4 separate regions of the Homo sapiens genome follow, and all the other regions are linked to region 4. The links are contacts of gene promoters, found by promoter capture Hi-C in blood cells and fetal thymus (Javierre and others, 2016). All regions are on one chromosome and are shown on one strand. The core of a region is centred on a gene start or on the middle of the fragment in contact, and the rest is flanking DNA. Distances in the headings are between cores, read along the strand shown. Region 1 has its middle 11 kb from the start of DUSP23. Region 2 has its middle 61 kb from the start of OR10J1. Region 3 has its middle 28 kb from the start of DUSP23. Region 4 holds the start of APCS (amyloid P component, serum).

Region 1 (2,700 bases), core at 126-2,625, 180 kb after region 4:
ATGATCAATAAATACTAAGGGAACTCAGAGGCTGGCGAGATCCTCCATATGCTGAACGCTGGTTCCCCGGGTCCCCTTATTTCTTTCTCTATACTTTGTCTCTGTGTCTTTTTCTTTTCCAAGTCTCTCATTCCACCTTACGAGAAACACCCACAGGTGTGGAGGGGCAACCCACCCCTTCACATAAGTATATTGCAGGACCTTCTACTCTAGGTATAGAAAACGGTTCTTGAATACAGCCTGGTTTACCTACTTCTACTCTCTGGAAGTGGTTGCCTCTGCTTTCTCCAAGATGACCCATGTTTTCAATAAAAATAGCCTGTGTGTGCAGCTGAGTGATTTTCTCATCTTACCTCCTGTTTCTATTTATTTTGAACTTCCTGTACATTAGTTAGTCTAAACTAATCCAATACCTTTCTATGTGGGCTTTCTATATGCCAGGTGATAGTCCACTTGACTAGACAAAAGCTATACCCACAACTATTTTTGAGATAGGCCTCTACTTTGGTTCAGTATGTCAATGTGCCGTGGAAAAAATGCCCTTAAAATTCTTAAAAGCCACTTTGCCTAGCTGAGAGAATCTAATAGTCACTATTTTAAATCATTCTGTGGTCTTAAGAAAGTCTTGTAGCCACACCCTTGATTTAATTTGTACCCTGAGAACATTTCTAACTTTGAGAATCTTTTGGCAGTAGGAGAGACTGGAAATGTGAGACAGTTTTATTTCTCACCTAGCGTATCCTGGGCACTCCATATTTGCTTTAAATTCTGCTTGCAAATGGAGCAATTCATTTTTTTTTTTTTTTGGTTCATCTCTCTCTTCCTATACCCTATTATCTATCACCTTTAAAAAGCTAATTGGCCCCTTCAGCATTCTAAATGGAAACTTCCTTAAGCCAAATCTACAAGTTAATTAAGTACATTTTTTATCTTCCAAGTTTCTGAAGATGACAGTGTTGCCAGTTATTCTACTACTATATAATGTGATTTGCCCTTTATCAGCCTCCAGTAGCAGTTTCCTCTCAGGTCCTCAGGCTCCACTAATAATCTACTCGCTGCACCTACTGCCTCTTCCAGCCACTCAACCCCAAAGCCAATGCCACATAGTTTAGCTTTTTGTTACAGCAACATACCATTTCTGGGTATAAATTTTTATATCTGGCCGGGCACGTTGGCTCACGACTGTAATCCCAGAACTTTGGGAGGCCGAGGCAGGCGGATCACCTGAGATCAGGAGTTCGAGACCAGCCTGGCCAACATGACAAAACCCTGTCTCTAATAAAAATACAAAAATTAGCCAGTCATGGTGGCAGACGCCTGTAATCCCAGCTACTCAGGAGGCTGAGGCAGGATAATCGGATAATCACTTGAATCTGGAGAGTGGAGGTTGCAGTGAGCTGGGATCGCGCCACTATCTCAGCCTGGGCCACAGCAAGACTCCATCTCAAAAAAAAAAAAAAAAAAAAAAAATATATATATATATATATATATATATATATATATATATATATATATATATATATATAAAATCAGTTTTCCATTCCTATGAAGTAAATGACCATATATATATATATATATACACACACACATATATAGAGAGAGATAGATATAGATATAGATATAGATCAGTTTTCCATTCCTATGAAGTAAATGACCCCAAAATTTAGTGGCTTAACAGCAATTTCTATTTCTCATGATTCTGTGAGTTAGCTGGGTCACTCTTCTACTGGTCATACCTAGGATCATTCATGCAGCTGCATCCAGCTTGGGGACTGGGCTCAACTGGCCTCTCCTACCATACGGTATATAATTCAGGGCTTCTTTATAGCATAAAGGTCTTAGGGTTCCAAGATGACAAGACCCAACATGCAAGTGCTTATCATACCTCTGCTTCTATCACATTTGTTTTATTTTATTTCATTTTATTTTATTTTATTTTATTTTATTTTATTTTATTTTATTTTATTTTATTTTTTGAGATGGAGTTTCACTCTTGTTGCCCAGGCTGGAGAGCAGTGGTACAGTCTTGGCTCACTGCAACCTCTGCCTCCCGGTTTCAAGCAATTCTCCTGCCTCAGCCTCCCAAGTAGCTGGGATTACAGGCATGTGCCATCACGCCCGGCTAATTTTGTATTTTTAGTAGAGATGGGGTTTCACCATGTTGGTCAGGCTAGTCTCAAACTCCTGATCTCAAGTGATCCACCTGCCTTGGCCTCCCAAAGTGCTGAAATTACAGGCATGAGCCACCGCGTCTGGCCCACATTTGTTTATATCACGTTAGCCAAAGCAAGTACAAGGCTGAGTCCAGTACAAATGTAGGAGAGGCATGTATAAGGGTGTGGATACTAGGAGGTGTAATCCATTCAGGTCATTGCTATAACAATCTGCTCCAAAACCAAAATGTAAGTTTCATGCTTTTATCTGCATCTTTAGTCAAGTATATAGCCCAATATTTTGTTCACTTGGACTTAATTGGCATGTTTGTTTAATTGAATTAAAGAGGTAGAAAGTTTTAGAAACACAAGGACCAGAAAGGCTGAAACTATTATAGTTTTGGAAAGCCAAAAGACTATAGAGCAAAGCTAACCATTAAAAAACATTTTCTCACCATTTTTCCATATTCTTGTGAATCAAATATGTTTTCTGACCAAAGGGATTTAGGGTATCATAATTTTCAAATAAATGACTGACTCATCAACC
Region 2 (2,700 bases), core at 82-2,581, 210 kb before region 4:
CATAATTTAAGAGACTAATGCATTTTAAATGATTATTAATTTATTGTTTTGGATACACAGTGTATAAAGATAAAATTTCATGACATCAACAGACAAAAGATTTGAAAATGGAACTGTTAAAGGAGCAGAGATTTGTATGTTATTGAAATTAAGCTGACATAGATTCAAATTAGAGTGTTATAACTTTAGGGCATTAAATGTAATCCCCATGGTAGCCACGTATCTCAGAGATATTGTGGGTTTGATTTCAGACCACTGCAGTAAAGCAAATATCACAATAAAGTGAGTCACACAAATTTTTGGCTTCTCAATGAATATAAAAGTTATGTTAAACTATACTGTAGTTTATTAAGTGTGTAATAGGATTATGTCTTAAAGACAATGTATAGACTTCAATTTTAAAATACATTACTGTTTTAAAAAATGCTAACAATCATCTGAAACTTCAGCGAATCTTTGTGCTAGTAGAACATTTTGCCTCAATGTTGATGGCTGTTACTGAGCAGAGTGGTGGTTGCTGAAGATTGGGTTTGCTGTACCAATTTATTAAAATGAGACAACAATAAAGATTACCACATCAATTGATTTTTTTTTAGAGACAAGGTCTTGCTCTGTCATCCAAGCTGGAGTACAGTGCTGTGATCATAGATCACTATAGCTTTAAAGTTCTGAGCTCAAGAGATCCTCCCACCTCAGCCTCTTAAAAAACTGGGACTACTGGTGTGAGACACCACACCTGGCCAATTTTATTTATTTATTTGTAGAAATGGGGTCTCATTACATCGCCCTGGCTGGTCTTGAACTTCTGGCTATAAGCTATCTTCCTGCCTCCACCTCCCAAAGTGCTGGGATTACAGGTGTGAATCACCTCGTCCAGGCTTAATTGACTCACAAAAGATTTCTCTGTAGCAGGCAATGCTGTTTGATATCACTTGACCTACAATAGAATGTCTTTCAAATTGGAAGTTAATTCTCTCAAACCCTGCCATTTGTTTAACAACTAAGTTTTAGGGAATATTTTAAATCATTTGTTGTTGTTTTAATAATGTTCACAACCTCTTCACTAGGAGGAGATTCTATCTCAAGAAACTACTTTATTTGCTTATCCATAAGAAGCAACTCCTCATTTGTTAAAGTTTGATTATGAGAAGGCAGCAATTCAGTTATATATTCGAACTCCACTTCTAATTCTAGTTTTCTTCCTATTTCCACCACATCTACACCATGAGAATTGAAATAAGCTTCCTCTAAACTCCTGTTAATGCTAATATTGTGACCTTTTCTCATAAATAATGAATGTTCATAATGACATATAGAATGGCAATTTCTTTTCAGAAGGTTTTCAATTTGCCTCACCCAGATCCATCAGAGGAATCATTATCTATGGCAGCTATTACCTTATGAAATGTATTTTTGAATAATAAAGCTTGAAAGTCAAAATCACTTCTTGATAGATGGGCTGAAGAATGAATATTGTGTTAACAGGCATGAAAACATTATTCTCCTACCATGACTACACCAGAACTCTTGGGTGACTAGGTGCATTGTCAATATTTTGAAAGATATCTTTTTTTTTTTCCTGAGCAGTAGATCTTAAGACAGACTTACCATATTCAGCAAACCATGGTTTAAACAGATGTGTTGTAATTCAGGCTTTGTTCTTCCATTTATAGAGCATAGGCAGAGTAGATTTAGCATAATTCTTAAGGGTGTTAGAATTTTCAAAGTGGTAAATAACCATTGGCTTCAACTTAAAGTCAACAGCTGCATTCATCCCCTAGCAAGAGAGTCAGTTGTCCCTTGAAGCTTTGAAGCCAAGCATTGGCTTCTCCTCTGTAGCTATGGAAGTCCTAGACAGCACTGTCTTCCAATGGAAGGCTATTTTTAAAATATGTTGTTTAATGTAGCCATCTTCATCAATTATCTTAGCTATATTTTCTGGATCATTTGCTCTAATTTTTGCATCAGCACTCCTGAATTACCGTGAACTTTTATGTTATGGAGACAATTTATTTCCTTAAATTTTATAAACGAAATTCTGCTAGCTTAATATCTTCTTCTGCAGTCTCTTCACCTCTCTTAGCCTTCATAGAATTAAACAGACTTAGGGTCTTGCTCTTAATTAGGCTGTAGCTTAAAGGAATGTTGTGACTGGTTTGCTCTCCTATACTGACTTCTAAAAGTTTCTTCATATCGGTAATAAGGCATTTTCACTTTCTTATTTGTGTGTTAACTGATGTAGCAAATTTAATTTCCCTCAAGAATTTTTTTCTTTGCATGCACATCTTGGCTAACCATTTGGCACAAGAGGCCTAGATTTTGGCCTATCTCAGCTTTTGACCAGGCTTCCTCACTAAGCTTAATTATTTCTAGATTTTGATTTAAAGTGAAACACACTCAACTCTTTCACTTAAACACGTAAAGTTGACTGTAGGGTTACTAATTCATCAATTTTCAATATTGTTATGTCTTAGTGAATAGGGAAGCCTGAGGAGAAGCAGAAAGATGGGAAAATGGCCAGTCAGTGGAGCAGTCAGAACACACACAACATTTATCAATTAAGTTTGCTGTCTTATATAGGTTCAAACAAAACAATTATAATAGTAACATCAAAGATCACTTATCAAAGATCACCATAGCAGATATAATAATAATGAAAAAGTTTAAAATATTGTCAGAATTACCCAAATGTGATACAGA
Region 3 (2,700 bases), core at 147-2,646, 170 kb after region 4:
ATGATACAGGTACAGATACAAGTATAGGTGGTTCCTCTTGTCAGTTCCAACCAGGCGCCACTTTGCTGCTGTCCTTCTATGGCCAAGTTTCCTCCGGTTAGCAGGCTTCATACATCACAACAGGCAGGTTTATACACCTTAACCCAAAGCCAGTACTGCTAACAAATTACCTTGACATGTTGATTGCTTGCCTTAACTCACCCTGGAGGCCTCCAGAGGCCTTCTTCACATCACCACAAACACTTCCAATTAGTGCATTGGTTTATCAGGAACTCTTTTCTTGGTGCTCTATTCTGCTCTCCATGACCTTGGTTGCCTGAGTGATACATCCTTTAATTTGTTCCTACATCTTGCTTGGATTTTCCCCTGCTCATCTCTGTCTCTGCTTATACAGGATGTGTTTTATTGCCACACAGACTTAGCTGGTAGCCTCTGTGGCATCATCCAACACTGATGTCCCTCAGTCAACTCTAGAACACCCATAGGTGGCCTCTGTAAGAGACGTTTCCAGGAACAGAATGCCAAACATACTGTTTATCAGAGTTCTTGAGTTGCACAATGGGAGGAAATTGTTGCTTAGGATTTCAAAGGACACCAGAGAATTTCAACACACACCTGGAATGGTGCCCTGTTGCTTGTCCAGTCAATGCCAAGTTAATGATGGGAAGGAATAGCTGGTGTGTCACGTGATTGCCAAGCACTGTCGCAAATCCTTCCTGAGGTCAACACTCCCAACCCCGCCAAACTCTACAGCTCACAAATCAGCTGCAAGTGGAGCATAAAAAATGCAACATTGTGGAATTAACTACTTATGGGCCACACCTGAAATTGCCTGATTTTGGTTAAAGAAGTGGTTACAACACGCCCTTAAAATCATCATGAGCTTCTAAGAGATGACAATGACTCATAGATTTATCTGTCATGATCAGTTAAAATTCTAGACATAAACTCAACCTGAATTCTTAAGATCAATGGTTCGAAAGAACTGACATTTGAGAATCCATCCCATTTTACTTTGTAGATGCATTGATACATTTGTGGAAAATGACAAGAAATTAATCTTGAGCTCCTTTGCCCAAGAGGTTACCCATAGTTGTATACTCTCAACATACCTGCAAGACAACATGCCAGAGCTATGCCAGGATCTGATATTATTGAGTCTGGTTTTCCCAAATGAAGATCTTGATTTGGATTAGTTATCTTGAATGTGGAAATTCTCCTTCCTTTAATAATATCCTATTGAAGTAAGTTAGGATTTCACACAGGTAAAGTTACTACAGCTTTAGTAACTTTACCTACCACAATTTTAGTAACTTTACCTGTGTGAAAAACTGACTTTTGTTCACTTTTGGAATAAAGAAGGAGCAGCAGAAATTATTACCCATGAATCCTATATAAAAGATCCTGTGTCACAGAAATGTGTCTGGTCTTCTTCGGAAAGGTAGACCGACCCCAATTTCAGGACACCGCAGGAATTCAATATAAATTTGAAACTCTATGTTACAATTTACAGAGGTGTAGCTAACTCAACAACTGGAAAGAATAACAATTACTGCCTCTTGTTTACAAAATTTTTTTCTGTTCAAGACTTCTTCGAACTCTTATTACATAAAGTCAACTCCATGATCAGAAAGGCCATGAGAATTGTGCCAAATGCTAGATGAAGATGTGACTTTCTCAACCCCTTCACCAGTCCTCTTGTTTACCTGGTTGCCCAATGAGATCGAGTCTCTCTATTGGATCAAGACTGGTGTTGACAAAGAGTCCCAGAGCCAAGGTGGGAAGCCAGGTAGAAAAATACAACAAGTCTAAGAATTACAGGCAGGACTGGGAACGGGAAAAGTCAAAAAGGCTCCGAGCCAAATGAGAAGTCAGAAATCACATGCATATCAGGAGTCCAGGTTAAGTGTGTAGGTTAAAAATCAAGCCAGCAGTTAGAAACCAGGAAACCCACAGGCACCAGGGAGCAATGCAAGTCCAAGGGTCAGAAAACAAATAAAAGGCCAAGACAGCCAATTAAAAAGCACCATCATGATGAACTTCACGAAAGTCCCTGCTGTTTCAGGGAAGAAGGCTCTTCCTTCATTTCTGTGGGAGATGTGACCATGCGAGGTTGTGCAGGTAGAAGCCGGGGATCCATGTTAAAAGAGTGGAGTCAAATGAGAGAGGCGCTGTGTCTGGAATCATGCTGAAAGACGCATCATGATACCTCTACACAGTGCAGTAATTAGCCACCTATGTCACATCAGGATTTCAGGGCTCACTGGCCAAGAACAGCCACATCCCTGTCAGTACCATTTTTCCACCTCCTGGCACCCTTTCCCTTCTGGTTCCCAAACCCAAAAAAATTCATACTGCCCAACGGTGATCCAAATCCTTCCTGGGAGGCACAGTGCTCAGACTTTCCCATTTCCTAAAGCCTTCCAAGTGAAACAAAGAAAAAAATAATGCTTTTTTTTTTCAATTTGGACAGCATATCACAGATGCTAAGAGGAAGCAAGTGTATCAAACTCTGAATTTAAATGATAAATATCCTTAGCTATTGTAAAGGTATTTGAATTTGAAGGAAAGAACTAATTAATACAAAAGTGCCTCTAGAACTCTGCGCCGGCGTGTTGGAGGAATAAGGGTTAAAAACAAAACATCTCTCTTTAAAAAAAAAAATTACTTAAGCATACAACTTGAATTATAGTTGTAAAA
Region 4 (2,700 bases), core at 14-2,513:
ATACTGTGCAACAAGCCAGATAAGGCTTCACAACCTGGGATTCCATTTAGAGAAAAAAAGTAGAGAATGGAAACTCCCCAGGGATGAGAATAGGAAGGATACTTTGAACAATGATAGAGAAAGTGTATTCTTGGTGGCAGTGATTGTGTCATTGAAAAGGCTGATTAGGTCTGTGGTGAGCTAACAGAAGAGAGAGTGAACAAGAGGCTAAACAGTAGGATGAGAAACAAGACACCATATAATTCAGGGATGAGAGAGAAAGAAATAATGTGGCTAGAAAGAAGAACTTCAGTTTGATATCTCAGAGGCAGAGAAGGTTTGAGTGGTGGTTAATAAACTGTACAGAGAGAGAATGAAGGAGACATAGAAAGAATGAAGGTGGAGATCTCTGGGGCTGTGAGAGAGCCAGTGACCACTGAATCCCCAGCACCTAGTGTAGTAACTGAGAGCTAGTGAATAAATGTATTAGTGGGGTCATCACCAAAGATGGATTAGATATACACTCAATGACCAAGGACTCAAAGAAGAGGAGAGAAAAACTTGGGGAGATGCTGACATCTCTGCAGGTAGCATGAAGTAACCAGAAAACAAGTCGTAATGAGAAATGGAAAGATCTAGGATAAGGAAGCACCATGATATGCAAACGAAAAAAAAGCACTGAGTAGAAGTAGCAGAAAAATACTAAGCTTCATGGGGACAGAAAGTTTATTCTCCAAGTCCCTCTTTCCCCTTAGCTTTGCCTGGATGTATTACTTGATGTTGAATTAGTCAAAGTTGAAGGCACTTTTTAGGGTCTTCAGCAGAAAGCAGAATCCTAGAATATCCTACAAATACAAGACAACTTGAGAACTATAAAAGAAAGAAAAGGCCTTGTTCCCATAGCCCACAAGAGGGCTGAGCTCAGCGATACACTCTGTGTGGCTCAGGAGCTTCTGGCAGAGCACAGAGCCATCAGAGAGGGGGCCCAGAGAGCAGAGAGAGGCTCTGCTGACATGGCCAGCCCAGCGCCTCATCCCATCCATAACCCTGCTGCCCTGCAATGACTCTCTTCCCAGCAATAAAATCTGGGTCACAGGAGTTGGAGCTCTAGCCATCACTTGTCTCTAATAAATAACTCCCATTGATTTTCCAGCTCAGGGCTCACCACTCCTTCACCGTAAGCGCCAGGAGGCAGACCTGGAAAATCACTCACATATTATTGGTGCTCTTCCTCCCCCATCCTCACCCAAGGTGCATATAAACCCTGAATAACCTGAAGTCTAAGGGCATGAATATCAGACGCTAGGGGGACAGCCACTGTGTTGTCTGCTACCCTCATCCTGGTCACTGCTTCTGCTATAACAGCCCTAGGCCAGGAATATGAACAAGCCGCTGCTTTGGATCTCTGTCCTCACCAGCCTCCTGGAAGCCTTTGCTCACACAGGTAAGGAGGTGAAGGAATGGTCAAGAATCATAAAGTGAGAAAATAGGTTGAAGCTGAGATATCTTTTCCCTGCATTTATACTGAAGGTCATTATCTTTCTTTCTTTATCCCGCAGACCTCAGTGGGAAGGTGTTTGTATTTCCTAGAGAATCTGTTACTGATCATGTAAACTTGATCACACCGCTGGAGAAGCCTCTACAGAACTTTACCTTGTGTTTTCGAGCCTATAGTGATCTCTCTCGTGCCTACAGCCTCTTCTCCTACAATACCCAAGGCAGGGATAATGAGCTACTAGTTTATAAAGAAAGAGTTGGAGAGTATAGTCTATACATTGGAAGACACAAAGTTACATCCAAAGTTATCGAAAAGTTCCCGGCTCCAGTGCACATCTGTGTGAGCTGGGAGTCCTCATCAGGTATTGCTGAATTTTGGATCAATGGGACACCTTTGGTGAAAAAGGGTCTGCGACAGGGTTACTTTGTAGAAGCTCAGCCCAAGATTGTCCTGGGGCAGGAACAGGATTCCTATGGGGGCAAGTTTGATAGGAGCCAGTCCTTTGTGGGAGAGATTGGGGATTTGTACATGTGGGACTCTGTGCTGCCCCCAGAAAATATCCTGTCTGCCTATCAGGGTACCCCTCTCCCTGCCAATATCCTGGACTGGCAGGCTCTGAACTATGAAATCAGAGGATATGTCATCATCAAACCCTTGGTGTGGGTCTGAGGTCTTGACTCAACGAGAGCACTTGAAAATGAAATGACTGTCTAAGAGATCTGGTCAAAGCAACTGGATACTAGATCTTACATCTGCAGCTCTTTCTTCTTTGAATTTCCTATCTGTATGTCTGCCTAATTAAAAAAATATATATTGTATTATGCTACCTGCATTTGTTTAGTGCTTGTCATAGTCCCATATCTTTATCTTATGTCTACTACTTATCTATCTACTAATTGGTGTTTCATTGGTAATTGGTGTTTCATTATCCTGAAAACTCCAATTGCCAAGTACGGGGAGGAAAACCTGTAAGTAACTAGAAAGATATATCACAAAGCCAGAGCACTCAATGAGCACAACAGTGGCAATACTTAAAAGCTACTAACAATCATTTTAATGACGATTCAAAATATGTGTGGAATTGTAATCACAATTCTCCTATTTGTTTTTCCAGCTACAAATCGATCAAAAAGGGGTCTGAGGTTGCATCAGGTAGACAACTATAATGATATAAGTAAGCAATAGTTGAGAACCTGACAGCAAGTAATAAGACAGGAAGAATA

What was found. The method cuts DNA at HindIII sites, captures the fragments that hold promoters and counts their contacts. A CHiCAGO score of 5 or more calls a contact.
Region 1: a contact is called between a fragment that was not itself captured here and the fragment with the promoter of APCS in region 4, in 1 of 17 cell types (M2 macrophages). The highest score is 6.0, in M2 macrophages.
Region 2: a contact is called between a fragment that was not itself captured here and the fragment with the promoter of APCS in region 4, in 4 of 17 cell types (naive B cells, total B cells, naive CD4 T cells and 1 more). The highest score is 6.9, in naive B cells.
Region 3: a contact is called between a fragment that was not itself captured here and the fragment with the promoter of APCS in region 4, in 2 of 17 cell types (M2 macrophages and neutrophils). The highest score is 5.5, in M2 macrophages.

What each region holds. Positions count from the first base shown.
Region 1 is chr1:159,768,582-159,771,281 of GRCh38, forward strand. No RefSeq gene overlaps it. Among named protein-coding and RNA genes, the nearest start is that of DUSP23, 11 kb to the right of the region's middle. RefSeq lists enhancers at 1, 2-955. The HindIII fragment of the contact is 5,272 bases long and covers 1-2,700 here.
Region 2 is chr1:159,377,302-159,380,001 of GRCh38, forward strand. No RefSeq gene overlaps it. Among named protein-coding and RNA genes, the nearest start is that of OR10J1, 61 kb to the right of the region's middle. The HindIII fragment of the contact is 185 bases long and covers 1,240-1,424 here.
Region 3 is chr1:159,751,736-159,754,435 of GRCh38, forward strand. No RefSeq gene overlaps it. Among named protein-coding and RNA genes, the nearest start is that of DUSP23, 28 kb to the right of the region's middle. The HindIII fragment of the contact is 7,347 bases long and covers 1-2,700 here.
Region 4 is chr1:159,586,563-159,589,262 of GRCh38, forward strand. APCS (amyloid P component, serum) reads left to right here and starts at 1,264. Exons shown (of 2, transcript NM_001639.4): 1 at 1,264-1,423; 2 at 1,539-2,303. The coding sequence starts at 1,360. The coding sequence ends at 2,146. The HindIII fragment of the contact is 2,624 bases long and covers 685-2,700 here.